Linked DNA regions of Homo sapiens: all the other regions are linked to region 2. The links are contacts of gene promoters, found by promoter capture Hi-C in blood cells and fetal thymus (Javierre and others, 2016). All regions are on one chromosome and are shown on one strand. Each heading gives the region's core, a stretch centred on a gene start or on the middle of the fragment in contact. The rest is flanking DNA. Distances are from core to core; before and after follow the strand shown. Region 1 overlaps MMP10 (matrix metallopeptidase 10). Region 2 holds the start of MMP13 (matrix metallopeptidase 13). Region 3 has its middle 26 kb from the start of MMP8.

Evidence for each region. Contacts are between HindIII fragments. The CHiCAGO score rates a contact against its expected background, and 5 or more counts as called.
Region 1: a fragment that was not itself captured here is called in contact with the fragment with the promoter of MMP13 in region 2 in 1 of 17 cell types (monocytes); the score reaches 5.1 in monocytes.
Region 3: a fragment that was not itself captured here is called in contact with the fragment with the promoter of MMP13 in region 2 in 1 of 17 cell types (endothelial precursors); the score reaches 5.3 in endothelial precursors.

The regions. Positions count from the first base shown.
Region 1 is chr11:102,772,989-102,777,768 of GRCh38, forward strand. MMP10 (matrix metallopeptidase 10) reads right to left here. Exons shown (of 10, transcript NM_002425.3): 5 at 3,624-3,788; 6 at 3,292-3,436; 7 at 2,200-2,333; 8 at 1-18. Among named protein-coding and RNA genes, the nearest start is that of MMP10, 5.2 kb to the right of the region's middle. The HindIII fragment of the contact is 2,467 bases long and covers 1,097-3,563 here.
Region 2 is chr11:102,954,482-102,959,283 of GRCh38, forward strand. It overlaps MMP13 (matrix metallopeptidase 13), which reads right to left and starts at 1,251. Exons shown (of 10, transcript NM_002427.4): 1 at 1,105-1,251; 2 at 771-1,012; 3 at 1-125. The coding sequence starts at 1,224. RefSeq lists an enhancer at 684-1,883. The HindIII fragment of the contact is 7,221 bases long and covers 1-1,757 here.
Region 3 is chr11:102,748,560-102,753,276 of GRCh38, forward strand. No RefSeq gene overlaps it. Among named protein-coding and RNA genes, the nearest start is that of MMP8, 26 kb to the left of the region's middle. RefSeq lists an enhancer at 3,914-4,717. The HindIII fragment of the contact is 646 bases long and covers 1,593-2,238 here.

The DNA of each region.
Region 1 (4,780 bases), core at 1,080-3,579, 180 kb before region 2:
TGGCCCAGAACTCATTTCCTATTGAAAAAATAAATCCAAGACATTTTACTTGAAGCCATTGATTTTAAAAATAATTATAGTGCATTGTTGTGGTAAAGAGGAAGGCTTGGTTTTAATTCCAACCTAATAATGTCCAGTTCACAGCCAGTCCTTAATAAATACTCCCTGAATGAGCGAGTGAATGAATGAATGAATAAATGAGTAGATAACTCTGATTCACTGCCCTTTCTGTGTCTTATATATTTGTATCTATATGTTATAGTTTATTTATAGATCAGTTTTAGTTATTTCTTATAATTGTTGGTAAACTTTTAACCTGAATTTCTCACCTAGACCTCTCTCTCTTAAGTTTCATACCAATAGATCAGTTGCTTATTGGACACTTCCTTTGAGATATTTCACAGTCACCAATTCCAATCTGTGCTTCTTGTGAACACTATCGGAATTCATTCAAATTCTAGTGAGTTAGGACAATAAAATCCCATCAATCTCTCTGCATTTACTTTGTTACATCACTCTCCCAGACCCCAAGCCTGAATTCCTTCTTCGCACTCACTGCCAGATTCACTAATCTAAAATGTCCATCTGTTGTTTATCTCTCTTGCTTCGTCTGAACCGAATGACTTGTATCTGTCTGAGCAGTTCCAGATATGCTCTTACTTGGTAAAAACAATTTCTTCTTTCTTAAAGACCTTTCTACTTTCTGTACACCCAGCCCATCTCTGCACAACAATAGAGAACTTTAAGACCCATCCTAACATCACCTCCCCTAAGGGATCTTTGCTGAGTCCTGGGTATGAGTCAGGTGCTCCCATGGCACCCTTCCTTCTCTCAGTCCCAGCACTTGTCATATGTAGGCTGCCAAAGGCTTCATCTCTGCTGCCCCTTCTAGAATATGAGCCCTTTTCAGTCCTGACCTCCACCAATGAGAATGGCGTCTGACACAGTGCAAGTGATATGTAAATGTGAGATACATTACTTGATAACAATACGTTAGAGTTATGTAATCCTTTACAATTTCTACTGCAATTTCACATTCATTTGATCTTCACATAAGTGAGATTGCCAGAAATAAATATTTTTAAAATCTCCATAAAGCTTGACATTTAAAAATATTCCATTATCACCTATGAGTCTAGGGAAAAAATAAAAATGAGAAATTAAAGAATTAAAATTGAACAAAATGAAAATACTGCATATCGAAATTTGCTGGATGAAACAGAAGAAATGGTTATTTATAGGTATAAATGCTTGTATTAGAAAAGAAAAAAGTTACAAGTTAATAAGGTAAGTATCAAACTTAAGCTATAACAATAATAACAGGATCAATTCAAAGTAAACAAAAATTAAGGCAACAATAAAGATATGAACAGAAACTAATTAAACGGGAAATCAAAATATAATATAGAGAGTAAATAAAGCCAAAAGTCAGTCCTTTGAAAAGATCAGTAAAATTATTACATATATTATGAGATTGATGAAGAAAAAAGAGAAAGGCAAAAGGATTCAGTATTAAGAATGAAAAAGAAAACAAAACTTCAGCAATAATTCAAATTACAACAAAATAATTTTCCAAAAACTTTTTCTGATGGATTTGAAAACAGACAAAATTGGCAAATTTTTAGAAAAACATGTTAACAAAACTGACTCAAGAAGTAATAGAAACTCTAATAGCATATTACCAATAAAACAAATTGAAACAGTAGTTTAAAAGTCTGATAAAGAAGCCTCTATACCTGAATATCTCCATTAGTTAATTTATCTCTCCCTGCACTGATACTACATCTTACCGATTAAAGTTTTATAACACAGGGCTTTTCTCCTCATCTAATAAGATGGGTTCACCAGGAGCATCCTGGCTATTCTTGGCCTTTCCTCTGCCATATAAATTGTAAAACTAATTTGTCAAGTTCCATGAAAAATCTTTTGGCATTTGGTATTTGAAATGAAAATGTCTTGTATCTATAGATAAATTGACATTTTTACTATCTTGCATTTTTTATGAATATGGAATGCCACCTATTTTCTTAAGAGGTCTCTAAAATAAAGTTTATAATGTTCTTTGTACAAATTTTATTTAAGTGTTAGCACAAGGTCTTTCAGTAATCTAAACTTTAATATAATGGATAAAACTCATGTCAATAAAATTTTTGCAATAGGATTTATTCCAGCAAGTTGAAATTCTTATATAGTACTCACCTTTAAAAATAAAAACGGTGTCCCTGCTGTTAACTTCATATGCAGCATCCAAATATGATGGAAGAGAGGGCCAAAATGCAGAAATCAAATGAAATTCAGGTTCAGGGTTCCAGTGGGATCTTCGCCAAAAATATCTGTAATACATAAAATTACTTGCAATTGTCTTTCTCTTTTAGATATGTGAAAAAAAAATTCTTTTTTTTTAAATCCATGCTAATTCACCCATTCATAGAAGTCTGTATTAAACCATCCTCCTGCATGTGATTCCAGGGTAATGAAATCGATGGCAGGACTTGTGACTGGTTCCAGTAAAATTATTTAGCTTGGTTCCATTCTAAAAGTCCATAAACAGTGTGCATATTATGTCCTAATATTTTAAAAAATATTATGTGTATATTGATGCTTGTATATGAGTAGAACATTTTTGTAAAGAGTCAAAGGAAATTGGTAGCAGTGGTTGCACATATGAAGGGAGCTGGAGGACGGTAGGCCAAAGACTGGAGAGAGATTTTTTAACTCCGTATCTTTTGGTAGTGTTTAAATATTGTGCCACAAGCACATATCACTTTTTTCCAAAAGTAATTAATTTAAATAGTAGCATATATTAGTAAATGGAAAGATACCACCCTGCTTCTAAGGATCCACCAGTGCTTTCTGAAGAAGTTCCATGATATATGATATTTTAAAAAAATGAACGAAACAGATATAACTCCCTGCCTTAATCAAACTTACAGTCTAGGGACCAAGAATCATCCCTTATAAGTCTGTAAAAAATGATCTGGACAATTCTAAGAAGATGTTAAAAATTCAGCAAGAACTAGATCTGAATGATTTTAAAATGTAGAGGAAATTTTATATTTTAAAAAATCTCTGTCAAGCAGAAAAAGTAACTACTGGGTACTAGGATTAGTACTGGGGTGACAAAATTATCTGTACAACAAACCCCTGTGACACGAGTTTATCTATATAACAAACCTGCACATGTACCCCTGAACCTAAAATTAAAAAAAAAGCTCTGTCAAGTTTCTGTTTTTCTTTCTAAGCACTGTACATCAAAAGAATAGATAGGAAAATATAATTTTCTGGTCTGACCTGTCTTTAAAGAACAGATATTCTCCCCTCAGAGTGCTGATGGCATCGAAGGACAAAGCAGGATCACACTTGGCTGGCATCTCAGATCCCGAAGGAACAGATTTTGTGGGCACCAGGGGTTCCTCAGTAGAGGCAGGGGGAGGTCCTAAAGGAAACAGATTTGGGGATGCAAACATTAAAAAAAAATGTGATGCATCTGTCAATTTGTGTGCCTTTCAAACATTCTCAAAGTGCTTCAGGCCAAATCAGAAATACTTTAGGTAGCACTGGAAAGCTTTCTGGAGGACTGTCATTGTAGATCTGCAATGCCTAATTTTTCCAGCATCACTCACCGTAGAGAGACTGAATGCCATTCACATCATCTTGCGAAAGGCGGAACTGGGCGAGCTCTGTGAATGAGTTGTAGAGTGGGTACATCAAAGCTTCAGTGTTGGCTGAGTGAAAGAGCCCCAGGGAGTGGCCAAGTTCATGAGCAGCAACGAGGAATAAATTGGTGCCTGTATGAAAATCATAAATGTTCAGAATTCACCAGCTCTTTCTTCCATAAATACACATACAGAACATATGCCAGCTGTACAGGCCATCCTTGAAACCACAATGTCTTTTCAGTATTTGTGGATTGGTTCATTGATTGGCACATTCCATACTTTATAGAAATTAATGTGTTTTTCAAGGTTGACTTTAAGTCAATATATAAGACAGTTTTTCACCGTATCCCTCCCTAGATCCCTCCTTGGTCAGGAAAACTAAGACACTTTTCCTATATTGACAAATGAGAAGCATTATTTTCAAAAGATTTTTTTTTGAAAGGACAAGACTAATAGCATGTCAGTAAATATAACTCTTCGTTGTCTAAAAATAAAAAGTCATTGTTCAAATTTAGGAACACTTGCCAGTTGCAACCTTGGTTAAAATTAATCATATAACATTTACGTTCAAACTTTTAAGCCAGAAGACTGTGGTTATTTCTTGTGGGGTTTAGTCTGATTTTCTCTTCCTCCTCTTCATCATACTCAAGTAATTTTTTTTTTTGAGACAGAGTCTCATTCTGTCGCCCAGGCTGGAGTATGTGTCCAAGCGATTCTCGTGCCTCAGCCTCCTGAGTAGCTGTGATTACAGGCACGTGCTACCATGCCCGGCTAATTTTTGTATTTTTGTTGAGATAAGGTTTCACCATGTTGGCTAGGCTGGTCTCAAACTCCTGGTCTCAAGTGATTCACCCAACTTGGCCTCCCAAAATGCTGGGATTACAGGCATTAGCCACTGGTGCCTGGCCATAATCAAATAATTTTTGATTGTCAAAAATCTTCCCAGTAATAGGTGCCATTGGATGTGTACAATCTTTAGTTTAAAACAGAAACATGCCCAATAACAGTTTTCTGCAGCACAAACACAGCTAGATTCAGCTTTTTAAAAATATTATAAAAAGGGTTTTATTGAATTTAGTAGTAGATATTATTTAACCAAGGCTCCAAGAATTGTGCAGAAA
Region 2 (4,802 bases), core at 1-2,500:
TGTCAGCAATGCCATCGTGAAGTCTGGTAAAATTCAGAGGAGTTACATCGGACCAAACTTTGAAGGCTTTTTTGAATGCCTTTTCGACTTCAGAATGAGTCATATCAGGGGTGTAATTCACAATTCTATTTAACAGAGAAAGTTTCAATGAACTTTTTGGAAAGTGACAGCTATTTTAGAATACATTTTCTTGGTATATTGCTTTTCAATTCAAAATGCAATAATTTCTTTGAAAGTTCTACTAGAGGTTTATTGTTTCAAATAATGTATTAATTATGATGCCATACAAGAATAAAAAGTCAAAAATTCAGCCACATTTGAGTATCTCCAAATATCTGACCATGTGGCATCTTAAATTTAAAATATTCCAATGTTTAATATAATTTATTTTGCATGCTAAAAGTTTAGATTACATTGATAAAGCTCAAATAAATGAAATAGCTCTGTAAAGTTTCTAGAAAGAGTGGAACTCTTCATCTTGAGCACTGTTGTAATAAATACACCTAATGTACTATGTTTGCAAATTTTCTTTAACCTACTTTTATTTCTCTTTTGATTTCATCTCTAAAAGAAATACTTTGAGATGCCCACTAAAAAATAATGCTGAGTTAATGTAACAATAATAGATGTTATGAGGTATTCTCGGCAACCATATTAAAGCTATTCTGGAATTTAACTGCCAATTAAATAATAAGGCCTACTTAATATTAGACATTTAATACTACAAGAAAAGGCTAACAAATATGAAAGAAAGATAGCCTATGATTTACCTGTAGGTTAAATTCATTTTGGACCATTTAAGAGTTCGAGGGAAAACATTGTATTCACCCACATCAGGAACCCCGCATCTTGGCTTTTTCATGACATCTAAGGTGTTATCGTCAAGTTTGCCAGTCACCTCTAAGCCGAAGAAAGACTGCATTTCTCGGAGCCTCTCAGTCATGGAGCTTGCTGCATTCTCCTTCAGGATTCCCGCGAGATTTGTAGGATGGTAGTATGATCTCAGGTAGCGCTAGAAAAGACACCAAAATGAACTGCGTTTAAAAGAGAAGGACATTTCTGAGATGTACCAACCGCATCATCAGGATTGGCAAGATACTCTACCTCTGCAAACTGGAGGTCTTCCTCAGACAAATCATCTTCATCACCACCACTGGGAAGGGGCAGGGCCCGACAATGAGTCCAGCTCAAGAAGAGGAAGGCAGCCAGGACCCCTGGATGCATCTTGAATGGTGATGCCTGGGGACTGTTGTCTTTCCGCAGAGATTACCTTTACTTTTATAGGCCTGCAATGGTGAGTCATCACTTATGGATAGGTTTCCACTTCCCAGTCACTTGAAGGTAAACATGCTTACGTGGCGACTTTTTCTTTTCCCTCCCGAGTGTGGTTTGTGGTAGAATTTGAGGGAAATATAAATGAGAGCATCTCTTGTTTCAGCAGGGTCTCAAAACCCATCTGGCAAAATAAACGGCCTCAGCATATTTATGGATACTGTGGGAAGAAGCAGAGAGTAGTACATTTTTTACTTCACTTAGCAAAATTTTTTTTTTTTTGCCTTCTGTAAGAACGTATCTACTTTTGCTTCTTCGAATAATAAGTGTATCAAGATGGCATGTTTACTTCCATAAAGAGAAACTTAGTACTGATTCTAGAATGTTTACTACTGCCTGGTAAATTATAAACTGCATTTTCTCTAGAATAACTACAGAGAGATGTCTTGTGTCTACCTGAAGTTCACGATATTGGACCAAAACCAAGCTTGATGACTTGGAGGTGCTACGGCACAACCGCAGGATTGAGCCCCATGGTTGGAATTTAAACACACTGGCATGACCTCTCGACAAATATGGAGTCCTGCATAAATTCCCTACAGATTCAGACAGAGGTAGAAGAATTACATTGGAACGGAACAACTGTAATGGCTAGCACAAACAGGGATTACTGCATTCTAGGTTTAAAAGGCATTATCTCATTTAATCCTTACAACAGCCACATAGGTGCTGTCAGAAAGCTTGTTTTCCATTTTACATATGAATAATCTGATACACTGAGAAGTTAAATACTTGTATACGGTCATATAGTTTATAAATGATACCAGGATTTGAACCTAGGCCAATAACTCAAAACTCAATGTTCTTGACCACCGTCCCTGTCTAATTATGACCTCCACCCTTTCCATTCTCAGATATTTTCTTAAAAGCTGAGCTGTTTGGTTCCTACACCTCAGGGAGTGCCCAAGAAAACTAGGGCTGCAGTAGGCCAATTTCAAGTTTCTCAATTTTTAAGTTTGAATAATAGAAGTAATCTTGGTCCAACCATCAGGAAAATAGTCCTAGGGGCCTCTACCCTATTATTCCTTTCAGAACATCACACATTCAGTACCGTGAAATCAAAGTGCCATCTTTGGTCCCCTGCAGAAGTAAATGGGTAGAGCAATATAGGCCATGATCTTTGGATTTATTGGACTTCTTTAAATAAATGATTGGAAATGCAGGTTAATTTGAGTGACTAAGAGTCAGAAAGAAAATGCTGCTCAGGTCAGGAACATAGTAAGACAAAGAGAAGGAGCATGAATACAGCTTTAGGGTGAGTACGAAATGGGTATCCTAACATATGAGTAAAATCCTATAATCTAGAGTAGCCAGTGCCTTAGAGAAAAATCAGAAAAGCCTACAACATGTATGTGATCATTTGAGGGAAATTTACTATATGCCTTTATCCAAACAAAATACAGCCAAATATACCCTTTCAAATAGATTGTTTCCAGTGAGTTCAAGATTAGATTGGTGCTCAATCAGGAATGCAAAGCAATAATTTATTTTAAGTTGCTTCCATGTATCATAATATTTAATTTTGAGATTAAGTGAAAAATTATCCAAAAAAGTTTGATTCATCGACTAAGCTTATAAAAGTTAGTTTATTAGAAAGCATTTGTTTTTACAAATAAATTTTCATAATATATTAAAATCTCATTAGATAAGAAGTGCTTAAGAAGCTGGAAAACAAATAACATTTTATTAAACATTTGAAAGTGGAGAAAAAGAATCAAATAGGCTAACTGTTCTTATAGATTTTCACATATTTGTAGAAATGTTACTACTTCAAACTAGAAGAAAAGAAGCTTTTTTATCTATCAATTTAATGAATATATTAATTGAGCATCAACCATATAGGATACCATGCTAGTGTCTATGGAAATGAAATGAAGGCTAAAATGAGGGCCTTTTTCTGAGGATCATTACAATATTACCTCCCCCATTAAAAAAAACATTTTTAATAACAAATGAAAATAAATACATGCCACTATTTTTCAACTTTAAAAATAAAGTTTATTATCAAACAACTTTAGTATTTTACTAGTTTCTCATTCCATTTAAGAACATAATCAGCGCAAAAGAAAAAACACAGAAAGGTTAATGAGAACATATTATTATATGTTCTGTAGTTTTCTTAAGTAGAAATAAATAAAAATTCCTCCAAAGATTAAAATACATTAATTCATTAAGAAAATAATCAGACTGCTCGTTTATAGAATATTGTTCAGGGAAAAGTGTTTTTAGATGGTGATAGGGATGTGTCATCACATCATAATGTGTTGGCAAACTGCTTGTCAACGCAAGTCCTTATATCAGGTTGTTAACTGTTAAAGTCAAGCCTTCTGGTTACCACTGTGAAATGATTTGTGGTTTCAGATGTCATCTTTAACACAATAGGGCTGAGCTGGTATTTAAAAATGGTTCTAACAAGTCTACCAAATCACTGGGAAATTTGAAAACCTGTAGAATGAACAAACAAAACTGGACTAAATTAGAATTATGTATTTACTGCTGATTCAGACATTAGCAATATGGGACTTTTTAAAACATAGGTCATCATCAGTTTTCAAGTTCAAAACGTCACCCAAACAGGAACGAAAAATGTCTATGAACAGCCAGATACTAAATCACAGAGGGGTCCCAGACTAGGAATAACATGAACAATTGGCCATTTGAGTTAGATTAAAATTATGAAAAATCTTTAAGTAAAAGAACGATTAAGATCAAGATTTTGGCTTCAGTTTAGAGTATAGTAAAAACTCATTGTCGATGACACTTAGCGGTGTGTTTATTTTTCTAAAATGTAAGTGATTTGACTCTGCAAGTGCACGAAGTAATAATTTTTTGTAAACACTCTCTGATGGTTGCTTAGTTCTACCTTCCGATTTCTCTTTTTTTTTCATAACCTCATGAGCTGGGCTTACATGGTCTTAAAAAGGAGAACTAGCTGGGCATAGGGCATGTCTATAGTCCCAGCTACTCAGGAGGCTGAGGTTGGAGGATTGCTTGAGCCCAGGGGTGAAGTTTGAGGACAGCCTAGGGCAGACAGGGAGGCGCCATTAAAAAAAAAAAAAAAGGAAAGCTAGATTTCTTCTAAATTTGAATTTAAACACTACTTTTGTGCAGTCATGGCATCATCCACAGGTGTGGAACAAAACAAAGAAGAGCTCATTTTACATGCTGTGGCTACAAAGCAAAGGTTGAGTAACTTAGGAGGTCATTTACTTTTAACATTTGAATGATATGCTCTTCAGAGATGCCATACTCATACTGGGTTGATCCACAAAAGTTACTAAAAGAATTTACAAGAAGTAAAATAAATTATTTTTGGTTCTTACTGGAGTATAACATCTGAAAGTCAAGTCCTAATTTCCTGGGCTCCCCTCCTAAAGAATTTTATTTTTTTGTGTGTTTGGTTGAAAAAGAGTGGTTACTGAATGTCCACCTTGGCCAGATTTAACCAAATACTCTAAGAGAAAACAACT
Region 3 (4,717 bases), core at 666-3,165, 210 kb before region 2:
CCTTGAGGTAGTCTTATTTGGGTTAAATCTGCTTGGTGTTTTATAACCTTCTTGTACTTGATATCTTTCTCTAGGTTTGGGAAATTCTCTGTTATTATCCATTTGAATAAACTTTCTACTCTAATCTCTCTCTCTCTACCTTCTCTTTACAGTCAATAACTCTTTCATTTACCCTTTTGAGGTTATTTTCTAGATCTTGTACGTATGCTTTTCTCTTTTGTCTCCTCTGACTGTGTATTTTCAAATAGCTTGTCTTCAAACTCACTATTTCTTCAGCTTGATCAATTGTGCTGTTAAGAGACTCTGATGCATTCTTCAGCATGTCAATTGCATTTTTTAGTTTCAGAATGTTTGCTTGATTCCACGTAATTATTTCAATGTCTTTGTTAAATTTATTTGATAGGATTCTGAATTCCTTCTCCATGTTATCCTGGATTTTGATGAGCTTCCTCAAAAGAGCAATTTTAAATTCTTTGTCTGAAAGGTCACATATCTCTGTCTCTCCAGGATTGGTCTGTGGTGCCTTATTTAGTTTGTTTGGTGAAGTAGTGTTTTTCTGGGTGATCCTGATGCTTACAGATGTTCATCAGTGTCTGGGCATTGAAGAGTTAGGTATTTATCATAGTCTTTTTAGTCTGGACTTGTTTGTACCTGTCCTTTTTGGGAAGGCTTTCCAGGTATTCCAAGCAACTTGGTTGTTATGATCTAAGTCTTTGGTCACAGCAGCCATATGTGCTTTAGGGGGCACCCCAAGCCCAGTAAACCTGTGGCTCTTGTAGACCCACAGATGTACCAGCTTGGTAGTCTTAGGTAAGATCTAGAGGAATTCCCTGGATGACCAGGCAGAGACTCTTCTTCTCTTTCCTGACTTCCCCCCCACCCCCCTACCCACCAAATTGAGTCTCTCTCTCTCTCTCTCTCTCTCTTCCTCCATAAGAGCTGACTGAATTCTGCCTGGTGTTGCAACACTAATGACAGGGCAACACTAAGTTCCAATGCAAAGTCTCACAATCACTGTACACTCCCTCTTCCCCTAGTGCAGATTCTCTCTTCATGCCATATGATCACTGCAGGGGGATAGGAGAGGGCTGGTGTAGGTCATTCAAGACTGTCTTTCCTACCCTTTTCAGTGCCTCTTTCCTTAATATGATGTTAAAACCAGGTAGTGTGATTGCTCACCCGATTTTGGGTTCTTATGGAGTTGCTTTTTTGTGTGAATAGTTGTTCAATTTTGTGTTCTTGCGGGGGTGTGAGGACAACTATTGGAAGCTTCTATTCAACTATCTTGCTCTGCTTCCCCTGAAGACTATTTGTAATAGCCCCAAATTGGAAACTACTTATATGTCCTTCAACATAGACTGGAGAGATAAATTGTGGGAAATTATTCACTCAATGGAAACTCTACAGCAAAGAGAATAAATGATCAAAAATTACATAAAAATATATTGATGAATCTCATAAATATAATGTTGAGTGACAGAAGTCAGATACTAAGGTATATAATGTATAATTCCATTTATTTTAAGTACTGAAAGAGATAAAGCTAATCTATGGTATTAGATTAGAAGTTAGGATAGTAGTTACCCTTAGAAAGCTTAGTACCTGGAGAAGGGATTTGGGGATACTGGCAATTTTCTTTTGTGTGCTGGTTACTTGGTTGTGTTGTGAAGAGTCATCAGCTATATACTTATGATACATGGCTTTTCTGTATTCATATTATATGTTGATAAAAGTTACCTTTTTAAAATATATATACTAAATCTCACTCTACTGCCCAGGCTGGAGTGCAGTGGCGCGATCTTGGTTCACTACAACCTTCACCTCCTGGGTTCAAGTGATTCTTGTGACTCAGCCTCCCAAGTAGCTGGGATTACAGGTGCCTGCCACCACACCCGGCTAATTTGTGTATTTTTTGTTAGTAGAGATGGGGTTTCATCATTTTGGCCAGGCTGGTCTTGAACTCCTGACCTCAAGTGATCTATCTGCCTCAGCTTCCCAAAGTGCTGGGATTACAGGCGTGAGGCACTGTGCCCAGCCACTTTATTTTTTATACGAAGTTTAAGTGTCTGTTTTCTTTAATATGTGACAGTGTTGCCATGTACATGTAAGGATGATACAGTTTTACGCTGTTTTTTCTTTGTTGAAACTGAGGGCTGTTATTGTCTTGGGTGGATTGAGATATGCATCCCATATGTGCAGCTGCTCAGGTTAAAGTCAGAGTCTTGGACTCTAGTAAAAAGCTTTTTTCTGTGAAAACCTAAGGATGACCTTGATTGACAACCCTTAGTACTTGCTTAAAACTAACTTATATAAGTTCATGAAGCAATATATTCTAGCTAACATAGAATATGTTCAGATTGAAGTTAAATAAGATTGTATTTCTATGTCTCTGCCTTGTGTTACCAAGAGACTGAAATAAAATACTGAAATACCTGGTTTCTTAGAAAAGAACATATTTTGGGCTCATTAAAAATACTTTTTATTTTCTGTTTGGTGATAGTCAACCATCAGTTATTTCTGCACTTGAACCAGATGTTAGCTTTCAGGAGAGTCAAAATTTGCTTCATTTTAGGATTACATTCATACTGCCTTCTTCTACAAAAGAAATAGAAAAAACCTAGAAATAAAAGAAACTAGATAATGATTTTTCACATGAACTCTTGAAAATATCATATTTTTGTGTACACAGTTTACTGTCTTATCTATGTAACACTAAATGTGTAATTTTATGATAGTGAAATGAGGAAATTGAATGGTCTTTACCTTTATTTTTCAAAACAGGTCAATTTTTTTTACTAATTCCGGGGAGGTCATCAATGATTTTGGGATAACCTGCATCCACGGACTGCATATTTTCATCATACCTGGTAACAAAAAATAACTAAAAATATCACATTGTGGTTAATATAAAAACAATAAAAAACACTTAACTTTCATGTAGAACTTTCCATGTACTAATCACTGTCCTAAGTGCTTTTCATATGAAGATTCATTTAATTCTCACAACAAATCTGAGAGGTAGGTACTGTCTGTGCCTCAATTTTGCAAAACCCCGATGGCTGCTTTTAAAAATTATGGGTGGGTACATTGTTGGCATGAAACTATTAAGAAATTTTAACTGGGAGGGAGAGTGGGGCAAACTAGACAAACTCTAAGTTATTCTCAACCATAAAAATCTGATTCAAATTTTCCCTTGGGCTCCATGTTCTGTCCTATCAAGGAGAAATGCTTCATTTTCTCCTTTTTGGATGCCTCTAGTCCCCTTTGTGTGTTCTGCTCTTTATCTCCTTTTCAAATGCAAGCCAACAAGTTCCTTGCCTTGCTAGGCAGCAGTGTGATAACAGGTAGGGGACTGAATGGCTGTGGGCCTGGCTGCATTCATTCTCAGAAAAAAGGAAAGTTTCAGTGAAATTTGAGAAAAATTTTAAAAGGCAACTCTCCTTCCACCAGAGTGATCTGATTTCCCAAGTTTTCTGAGGGTAGGTCTTTACCTCCAATACTCATTGGCAACAAAGAAATGTGTCTTTCCAGTGTCCTTCTCATAAATGGCAGCATCAATTTTCTTCACCCTTTCAGGGAAGACAAAGGAGCTGTAGACGTCCCTGGGGTAGCCACTCAGCAGTTGATCCTCCTGAACGACCCAGTGCTTACTGCCTGTCAACAAAAAATCGGCCATGAAAAGATTTGCCTGGAGTCTAGTAGATATTAGACAGAATTTCCTCCAGACATTTGCTTCACGAGAAGTGGATGGAGAGTTTTATTCCAATGTAAGGTGCACTCGAGAAGACCTTTCTTCTTAGTATAATTGGGTTACTTCTCAAGCTACACAGGTGTGTGTGTGTGTGGTGGGCACCCTGCAGGACTACAAGGGTGGGAGGCAGATGGACACCTTCTGCAGAAGACATATCTGAGCTTTCGACCAGGCTGACTCCAGACAAAGGATTCTGTATTTGTTCATTTGGTTACTCCAGAATGTCAGTTCATCTTACATCATGAAGCCAGAGTATCTCTGCACAAATAGAAGTTACCACCTCATAGAAAGGCAGTTTGAAACTTCATATTTTTAAAAATCCTCCTTATTGGCAAGATATACACCTTATGCTAGTATGCTTCAAGATTCTTTGCTTATTTAAACCAGTTTTTAATTTTTTTTTAAATTTTCTTGAGACAGAGTCTCACTCTGTCCCCTAGGCTGGAGTGCAGTGGTGCGATCTTGGCTCACTGCAACGTCTGCCTCCTGGTTCAAGTGATTTTCGTGCCTCAGCCTCCCAAGTTGAGTAGCTGGGACCACAGTCACACGCCACCATGCCCAGCTAATTTTGTATTTTTAGTAGAGACAGGGTTTCACCATGTTGGCCAGGCTGGGCTTGAACTCCTGGCCTAAAAGTGATCCACCCACCTCAGCCTCTCAAATAAACTCCTTTAAGTTACTTATTTTGCACTGTGATAGGGTCTAGTGTCCTTACATTTTATGCATGCAAAATCCAAAAACCTGAATATTTTCAAAGCACTGAATAGTTGACAAATGTACATAATGATATGATATTAAACATTCTAGTAAAAATTTTAGAGTAATGTATTTTTGTCAGTAAAATTACACAGCTTGAAGAAATATTATTCTCTTACATTTTTATGAAATGAGACAAAATAGTTACCTTTTTAAAGTAATTTATAGTGTCAACAGTTTATATTTATTAAAGTATTTATACTAATAAAG